Regions from separate parts of the Homo sapiens genome. Here all the other regions are linked to region 2. The links are contacts of gene promoters, found by promoter capture Hi-C in blood cells and fetal thymus (Javierre and others, 2016). All regions are on one chromosome and are shown on one strand. The core of a region is centred on a gene start or on the middle of the fragment in contact, and the rest is flanking DNA. Distances in the headings are between cores, read along the strand shown.

The links. Contacts are between HindIII fragments. The CHiCAGO score rates a contact against its expected background, and 5 or more counts as called.
Region 1: a contact is called between a fragment that was not itself captured here and the fragment with the promoter of NSL1 in region 2, in 1 of 17 cell types (fetal thymus). The highest score is 6.7, in fetal thymus.
Region 3: a fragment that was not itself captured here is called in contact with the fragment with the promoter of NSL1 in region 2 in 2 of 17 cell types (activated CD4 T cells and fetal thymus); the score reaches 5.5 in activated CD4 T cells.

What each region holds. Positions count from the first base shown.
Region 1 is chr1:212,554,845-212,557,544 of GRCh38, forward strand. LINC01740 (long intergenic non-protein coding RNA 1740) reads left to right here. Exons shown (of 3, transcript NR_125985.1): 3 at 999-1,222. Among named protein-coding and RNA genes, the nearest start is that of LINC01740, 11 kb to the left of the region's middle. The HindIII fragment of the contact is 1,563 bases long and covers 646-2,208 here.
Region 2 is chr1:212,790,483-212,793,182 of GRCh38, forward strand. NSL1 (NSL1 component of MIS12 kinetochore complex) reads right to left here and starts at 1,295. Exons shown (of 6, transcript NM_015471.4): 1 at 1,048-1,295. The coding sequence starts at 1,281. It overlaps TATDN3 (TatD DNase domain containing 3), which reads left to right and starts at 1,412. Exons shown (of 10, transcript NM_001042552.3): 1 at 1,412-1,505. The coding sequence starts at 1,440. RefSeq lists enhancers at 1-746, 1,221-1,500. The HindIII fragment of the contact is 10,286 bases long and covers 671-2,700 here.
Region 3 is chr1:212,572,176-212,574,875 of GRCh38, forward strand. It overlaps a transcript of ATF3 not described here. Among named protein-coding and RNA genes, the nearest start is that of LINC01740, 28 kb to the left of the region's middle. The HindIII fragment of the contact is 1,708 bases long and covers 516-2,223 here.

The DNA of each region.
Region 1 (2,700 bases), core at 177-2,676, 240 kb before region 2:
ACGCCCGGCTAATTTTTGTATTTTTAGTAGAGACGGGGTTTCATCATTTCGGCCAGGCTGGTCTTGAAGTCCTGACCTCGTGATCCACCCGCCTTGGCCTCCCAAAATGCTGGGATTACAGGCATGAGCCACTGCGCCCAGACAGCATATGTTTTAAGAAAAAACATTTACTGGAACATCATGTGGACTTAGAGCTTCTTTTCGCCCAAATTGGAGGCTTGTATATAGTATTGACAAAACTGAATATTGTGCCTGTCTGTCCCCTAATTTTGTTACTAGAGGAAGCTTAACTAAAAACAAAGGTGAAACTGCTGTTTCTTTAGACACTGCCATCAAATACATGAAGGAAATTTCTTAAGGGAAAGGAACACATGCTGTGTCCATGGCAGCAGCTAACAGTTGGTTTGCAGGAATCCTGAGTGGTGGATGGCAAGCTTGGCTTTTCCAGGGTTTTCTAATCTATGTTCTTCTAGTGGGTCTCCAGGTTACTAAGGCTTGTGTTATCAAGTTAATGACAAAATTGGATACTTATTTAAATCAGATCATTCTATAGCAAGCTGTGGTCCTTAATTTCCATCACACTTTGAATAAGGATTATGGCCAAATGGACTCAAATACTGTTAAGCTGCCTATATTACTTACCTAAGCTTTGACTTGTTTGATTTGGATCAATTTGGTCCCTCAGGGCTCCTGTTAAGGAATACGCTTCATTTTTTGGTGTTATCCTAAATACCAAATCCTATCTAACAGTCATCATGATAGTCCCCTGCTGTGCTGTATCCTCTCAAGTCTTAAATGTTAGTATGCAGCCATCCATTGAGCACTGAATGATCTCACTTTGACTAAATCAGCAAGAACATAATTATTCGACTGATGTGATAACTTGTGAATTCCATATTGAGACCAAGTAAGTCCATTTATGATGGTGACAGACAGTGGCATGAATCAGACATGTTTTTAGAAAGTTTTATTAATTTTATTTAAAATTTTATTTTCAGGAATGGGATTGACTGCAAAGGAGCACAAGGGAACTTCCTGGGGTGATGGAAATGTTTTGTCTTGATTGTGGTAATGATTACATGACTATGTTTGTCAAAATTCCAGAACTTTATACCTAAAAGGGTGAATTTTACTGCATGTAAATTATACCTAAACACATGACTTTTTAAAAAGGCCTGAAATCTTAACTACTCAGCTAAAAATAAAATAAAATAAAATAAACAATTTAGGTGCAAAACAAGTTTTGTTTTTGGGACTGACAGAGGTCCAGTGATTGTATTTATTTATAAAGCTAATAATCCAATCCAATATATCAATATCAATACTTTTAAATAGGATATAAAAAGTTATGAGATTTTTTAAAATAAGGATTTAGACTGCAAAATATTATGACTACAATGTTCCTGAAGCAACACTATCTTAAAAAATATCTCAAACAGAAAATAACACTCTAATGCTCTCAATCATTGCAATAATTGAAACTTCCAGAATATTACCATAATGCTGCTTATATTACATACCCAAAGCCCTGTATTTAATAGTTAAAAACAAAGAATTATTTAATACCAGCTAGCTTCATTACTTGATAGATTAACTTGCTTGACAGATCAACATTACTTGATAGATTACTGGATAGATCAACTAGCTTCCTAAAACATAACTGTAGCTCAGCTTCTAAAAAAGGTGAAAGAAATTATTATATTCAACTGAACTAGATTTTAAAAATAAAGACTATCAAGAACATAGGAAGAGGTAATTAAATGACGGGTCCTCTCTACTAAGGTTTCAATAGAAGCAAATACATCCGAGAAACCATTTACAAAGAACTCACCCTCATAATTGCCTTAGAGACCAAAGTCACAATTTTAAGGCCAAGATCTTTAGAAATCAGATAGGTCAGTGTGACGGTTAATTCTGTGTCAAACTTGACTGGATTATGGGGTGCCCAGATATTTTGGTCAAACATTATTCTGGGGTTATCTTTGTAAGGGTGTTTTGGATGAGACTAACATTTAAATTGACAGACGAAAGCAGAGTGCCTTCTATAATGTAGGTGGGCTTTATCCAATCATTTAAAGGCCTGAATAGAATGAAAAGTTTGACCCTCCCCAAAGTGAGTGAATTCTTCCTACTTTTGAACTGTGACATGGGCTTTTTCCTGCCTTTGGACTTGGACTAGAACTACACCATCAGCTCTCCTAGGTCTCAAGCTTGCTTACTCACCTTGCAGATCTTGGGACTTGCCAGCCTCCATCACTGCATAAGTCAATTCCTTATAATAAATCATATATGTGCACACACAGGCATGCCTCAGAGATATTGCAGGTTTGGTTCAAGACCACTGCAGTAAAGTAAATATCACAGTAAAGGGATCCACACAAATTTGTTGGTTTCTCAGTGCATATATGTTATGTTTACACTACACTGTAGTCTTAAGTGTGCAACAGCATTATGACTTTAAAAAAAGTACACACCTTCATTTAAACATATTTTCTTGCTAAAAAAATGCTGACAGACATAAAGTGAGCACATGCTGTTGGAAAAAACGGTACCAACGGTACCAATTTGTAAATAACACATTATCTGCAAAGTGCAATAAAGTGAGACACAATAAAATGAGGTATGCCTGTATATCCTATTGGTACTGTTTCTCTGGAGAATCCTAATACAACCTGCTTTCAAATCAATTTAAGACCCTCC
Region 2 (2,700 bases), core at 45-2,544:
GTAGTTTTTTGGGAACACAAGAAATAAAGGGATTGTGTGCTTCCTTATAACAGGCACCAATCTACTTATATTAGCGGAAAAAATTTAAAAGCTCATAATACCGCACATTTGTGAGTTATGAATGACCACAGTGCAAACAGTAAAAATAAAGGTTAATAGGCCGGGCGAGGTGGCTCACGCCTGTAATACCAGCACTTTGGGAGCCCAAGGCGGGCGGATCACGAGGTCAGGAGATCGAGACCATGCTGGCTAACACGGTGAAACCCTGTCTCTACTAAAAACACAAAAAAATTAGCCGGGCGTGGTGGCAGGCGCCTGGAGTCCCAGCTACTCAGGAGGCTGAGGCAGGAGAATGGCGTGAACCCAGGAGGCGGAGCTTGCAGTGAGCCGAGATCGCGCCACTGCACTCCAGCCTGGGCGACAGAGCGAGACTCTGTCTCAAAAAAAAAAAATAAAATAAAATAAATAAATAAATAAAACATGCAAAAGGAAAGATCAAATGCTGCTTGGGTGAATGGCTGACTTCCAGAATTACCCTTTCCAGGAGAATTCCTCATTGTCTGCGGCTGCATTGTCCAACAGGTGAGCCACTAGCCACTTTGTAGTTACTGAGCGCTTAAATGTAACTAGTTCGAAGATGTGCCGTAAATGCAGCACACCAGATTTGAAAAGCTTAGTACGAACAAAAGAATGTAAAATATCTCATTCATTTGATATTATTACATGTTAAAATACCTTGGATTTATTGGGTTAAACAAAATGTCTTATTTCCATTAACTTCACCTATTTCTTACTTTTAGTTTAAAACTACATAAAGATTAGCTTGCCTTGTATTTTCACTGGACAGCGCTGGTCTAAGTAATTAATAAGACCCAGCTGACATTAGCATCTATTTCTTTCTCCTCTAGCGTTTCTCGAACTGGTTCTACAGTAGCCTGGGGCACCGTTAATTCTGCCAAGGCCTGGCGTGGGATCTTTCTGAATCCTAAGATCCTGGGTGTTGGGTAAGAGGATGATGAGTAAAGAACTGGCTAACTGGTCCCGTACCCACTGCGCATCTCGCAGAGCGGGCTCCCGAATCTCCTCCGGCAGAGCGTCCCCGAGCTTTTGCACGAAGCGGCCGCACAGTTGTAGCATTTCGGTCACAGCCCGCTTCGAGGTGCAGCGCACCCGAAAGTCTTCTCGGGGAGTGGCGGAGACCAAGGCCTGGCTCTCTGTGCCAGCCGCGAGCTCCTTGTCCCATGGAGGGTCAAGGACCACCAACTCAGGAGACCCCGCCATTTTTCGTCGGAACTGTGGGCGGGGCACTCTGGGAGCGGAAAAGCGGGTTCACACTGGTGTAACCAGCATGCATCCGGCTGGAAACTCAGGACGCTGCAGCTGAAACGTTCCGGCTCCGGCTCTGCTGGCCGGTCTAAAGCGGCAGCCGCCGGGGCGCAATGCGAGCGGCTGGCGTAGGCTTGGTGGACTGTCACTGCCACCTCTCCGCCCCGGACTTTGACCGCGTATGTGAGGGCGATACGGGACCAGAGGGAGCAGGGAGGCCCCCGTCCTTTCCCCTCGTGTTATCTTTGCTCTCCTCCCTTGGGACGAAACCCCATATCCCCCGCCCAGACCCTTGTTTATGGCCATATGACCTTGCCCCTCATTTCCCTATTCCCTATTTAACCTCAGACATACCGATTTTTTTTTCCTGATTCAGTAGCGGTAAGCTATCTCCACAAGGCTTTTGTTTGCTCTTCTGAGTTCCTGGAATCGTTCCCTCACTCCCCTTGGCTGGCCTGTTTTTCCCCTCGGGGCTCTCACCTCCTGGCTGAGATGCCACTCTTTGTGGGAAGCGGTCCTCGAAACGCGTTCAAATCGGGGAGAGGTCGGGCGCGGGCTCACGCCCGTAATCCCAGCACTTTGGGAGGCCGAGGCGGGCGCTGCGCATCTCCTGTGTCCAGGAGATCGTGACCAGCCTGGGCAACATGGTGAAACCTCGTCCCTACAAAAAAAAAAAAAAAGCCGGTGATTGTGGCGTTTGCCTGTGGTCCCAGCTACTCGGGAGGCTGAGGTGGGAGAATCGCTGGAGCCCAGGAGGTGGAGGTTGCAGTGAGCTGACATCAAGCCACTGCACTCCAGCCTGGGTAACAGTGAGACCCTGTCTCAAAAAAAAAAAAAAAAAAAAATTCACAAATGGGGGAGAGAGGCAAACAAACAAACAAAAATACATGGCCGAGTGTGGTTGCTCACACTTGTAATCCTAGCACTATGAGAGGCCGAAGTGGGTGGATCGCTTGAGCCCAGGAGTTTGAGACCAGCCTGGGCAATGTGGTGAGACCCCGTCTCAATTAAAATAATAATACACACGTAAAATCAGTTACAAACTGTTTTACCCATTACGTGGGAAACTAGAGACTAATAATAGAGGATTAAGGGGGGTTTTATTTCAGGGGGAAATCCTCCCAGGAGCTGACACTTAAGGCTGAAAAGACAAGGAGCCACCCAAGCAAGGGGGTGAGTGTATGCTGGTTAGGGAAACAGATAGGTTGCAGGCCCCCAGACAAGCTAGAATTTGGCACATTTCAGTTGCCAAAAAGCTAAGTGGAGCCTGATGAGCTAGAAAGAGAAAGGCATGAAACAAAACTGGGGAGGTTTGCAGGGGATAGATGAGGTGGGTCAGTAAGGAATTTGGATTGCATTTGAAGCACAATGCAG
Region 3 (2,700 bases), core at 120-2,619, 220 kb before region 2:
TTAAGAGCTGGCAAGGCCCCAGTCTCATCATTCCTTTTCATGTTCAACATTTTCTTTGTTGCCGGGCGTGGTGGTTCACGTCTGTAATCTCAGCACTTTGGGAAGCAGAGGCGGGCGGATCCCCTGAGGTAGGGGGTTCGAGACCAGCCTGACCAAGATGGAGAAACCCCCATCTCTACTAAAAATATAAAATTAGCTGGGCATAGTGGCGCATGCCTGTAATCCCAGCTACTCAGGAGGCTGAGGCAGAGAAGGATGGCTTGAACCCGGGAGGCGGAGGTTGCAGTGAGCTGAGATTGCACCATTGAGCTACAGCCTGAGCAACAAGAGTGAAATTCAGTCTCAAAAACCAAACAAAACAAAAAACATTTTATTTGCTGTTCATACTTAATTATTATTTTGGTTGAACATTAGAATGATTTTGTGAAATTCTGAAAAGAATACTATTGAGATTTTTATTGAAATTATATTGACCATTCAAATTAATTTGCAAAGCACTGACTTCGTTGCCATAAAGCTTAGTATTCAAACCTGCATTTCCCAATAGCATTTTATAATTTTTTCATACGGGTCCTTCGCATTCTCATTATAGCTTTTCCAAGGCATTCCATAGAAGTTTCCAATGTCATCATTGTTGATATTTGCTGTTGTCATTTTATCTTTTCTAAAAGTTGTATTTTCTAATTGGATAATAGTTCTATATAGAAAAGCAATGTAGCAAATTTCTACATACAAATTTTTATACAGACAATTTGTATATACAAAAGGTACTTGGCTTTTGTGTCTTTTTTATATTTAGCAGTTTTCTTGGGCTCTCATATCGATTCTAATAATTCTTAGTTGAATTGTTCTTTTGAATTTCCGGGAATGTAATTATATCATGTACAAGTAATTGCAAATCTATTTTCTCCCTTCCAGTGTTTGTGCATCTTATTTTTATAAGTGCCCTATTTCATTGGTTAGAACTTTCAGGTCAAAATTTAGTAAAAATGGCCACAAACTATATCTTTGTTTTGGTCCTGATTTTAATAATATTGCCTTAGTATTTCATCCTTAAAGATGACTTTGACTGTTTGAAATAAACACTTTTTGTTATGTTAATAAAAGTTCTTAAATTTGTAATTATTTTTTAATAGGGACCAGCTGTTGAATTCTAATGTATTTCCTGCATTAATTGAGAATCTTATTTGGATTTTCTTTTTTAGCCTGTGGATGTAATATATTATACTATTGGATTTTAAAGATCTTAAAACATAAAATCTTTTTATTTTAGATTAAACCCTCCTTGGGTTATTTTGATACTGTTATCTGAATTTGGATTTTCTTTTCTATGTTCATAATTTAGATAGGTTTATTATCTTCTTTTTTTGAGCTGTCTTTTTCAGGGTTTTATATCAGGGTCATCTCTGTTAAGTAAATTAGATAGATTTTCCATATTTGTCAATGTTTGAAATTACTGAAACATAGTGATTACGTATTCCTTAAGAATTGAAAGATTTTTTTCCTGTAAAGTTTTCTAGGCCTAGACACATTTTTTTTCCTGGAGGGAAATCTTTCCTTTTTTTCTAAGTTCTTCAGCCGTGATTGGCATATGTAGGTTTTATACTTCTAATTTTGATAATGTATATATTTTCAGACTATTCATTTCATCTAGGTTTTCAGATTTATAATTTATAATTTTGCAAAGTATTGTCTTATATTTAAAATATCTCCTCCTTATCTGGTGCTGAACCTCCCCTTTTTATTTCTAATTTTATTATTCATAGGGTTTTTTTTTCTTCTTTAGTTTCTCTAATATTTGTCTACTTTATTACTTTTTAAAAAAAGTGCTCTTGAATTAATTCCGTAAGTTTTCCTATATCCTAATTCAGTTAGTTTTGGTTTTGCCTTTAGTCTTTTCTGTCTACTGATTTCTTAGGGATTTTGTTGTCATTGTTGTTTTTATAAACCCTTGGGTTGAATGCTTTTATTTTTCCTTTCCTTGAAAATAAAAACAAATAAGATTGTAACTTCAACTTTTAGTACAACTTTCATATTTTCATATTTTCTTAGTACAATATTTCATACCTTTTGATATATTGTGCTCTTATTTTAATTATCTTCTAACTGCTATGTTCTTATACTTTAATTTCTGTTTTAATTTTCTGTCCTTATATTTAATGATTTTTTGTTTTAATTTCTATTATTAATAGCTAGTTATACTGCACTGTGATCAAATAATCAAGCTTATATAATTTTTGTTTCTTAAAATATCTCTCATTTTGGTATATTCATCACAAATGCTTTCTCCTGTTCTATAATATCTTTTCATTTTGTTTGTGTTGTCTTTTTTAACACATAGTTTTTTTCTCTTAATGTAATCAAATATATCCCTCTTATTTTATTGTTTGTATGTTTGTATCTTATATAAAATATTTCTGCACTTGATGATAATGAGTGTATCTTCCTATATATTGTTTTTTCTCAAGGTTGCAAAGTTTTGCCTTTCACATCTGTGTCTTTAATCTTTATGGCTGATGTGAGTGAGAATCTAATTTAACTTACTCCCATATGGATAACCAGTTGTCCCAGTCTCATGAGTTCCTCCCATTGCTTTGTGAGGCTATTTCAGTCATGTACAGAGCTTCCTTGTGTATATAGGTTATTTATGGGCTTTTGTTCGGTTCCATTAATCTATTTCTATTCCCTATGCCAGTACTA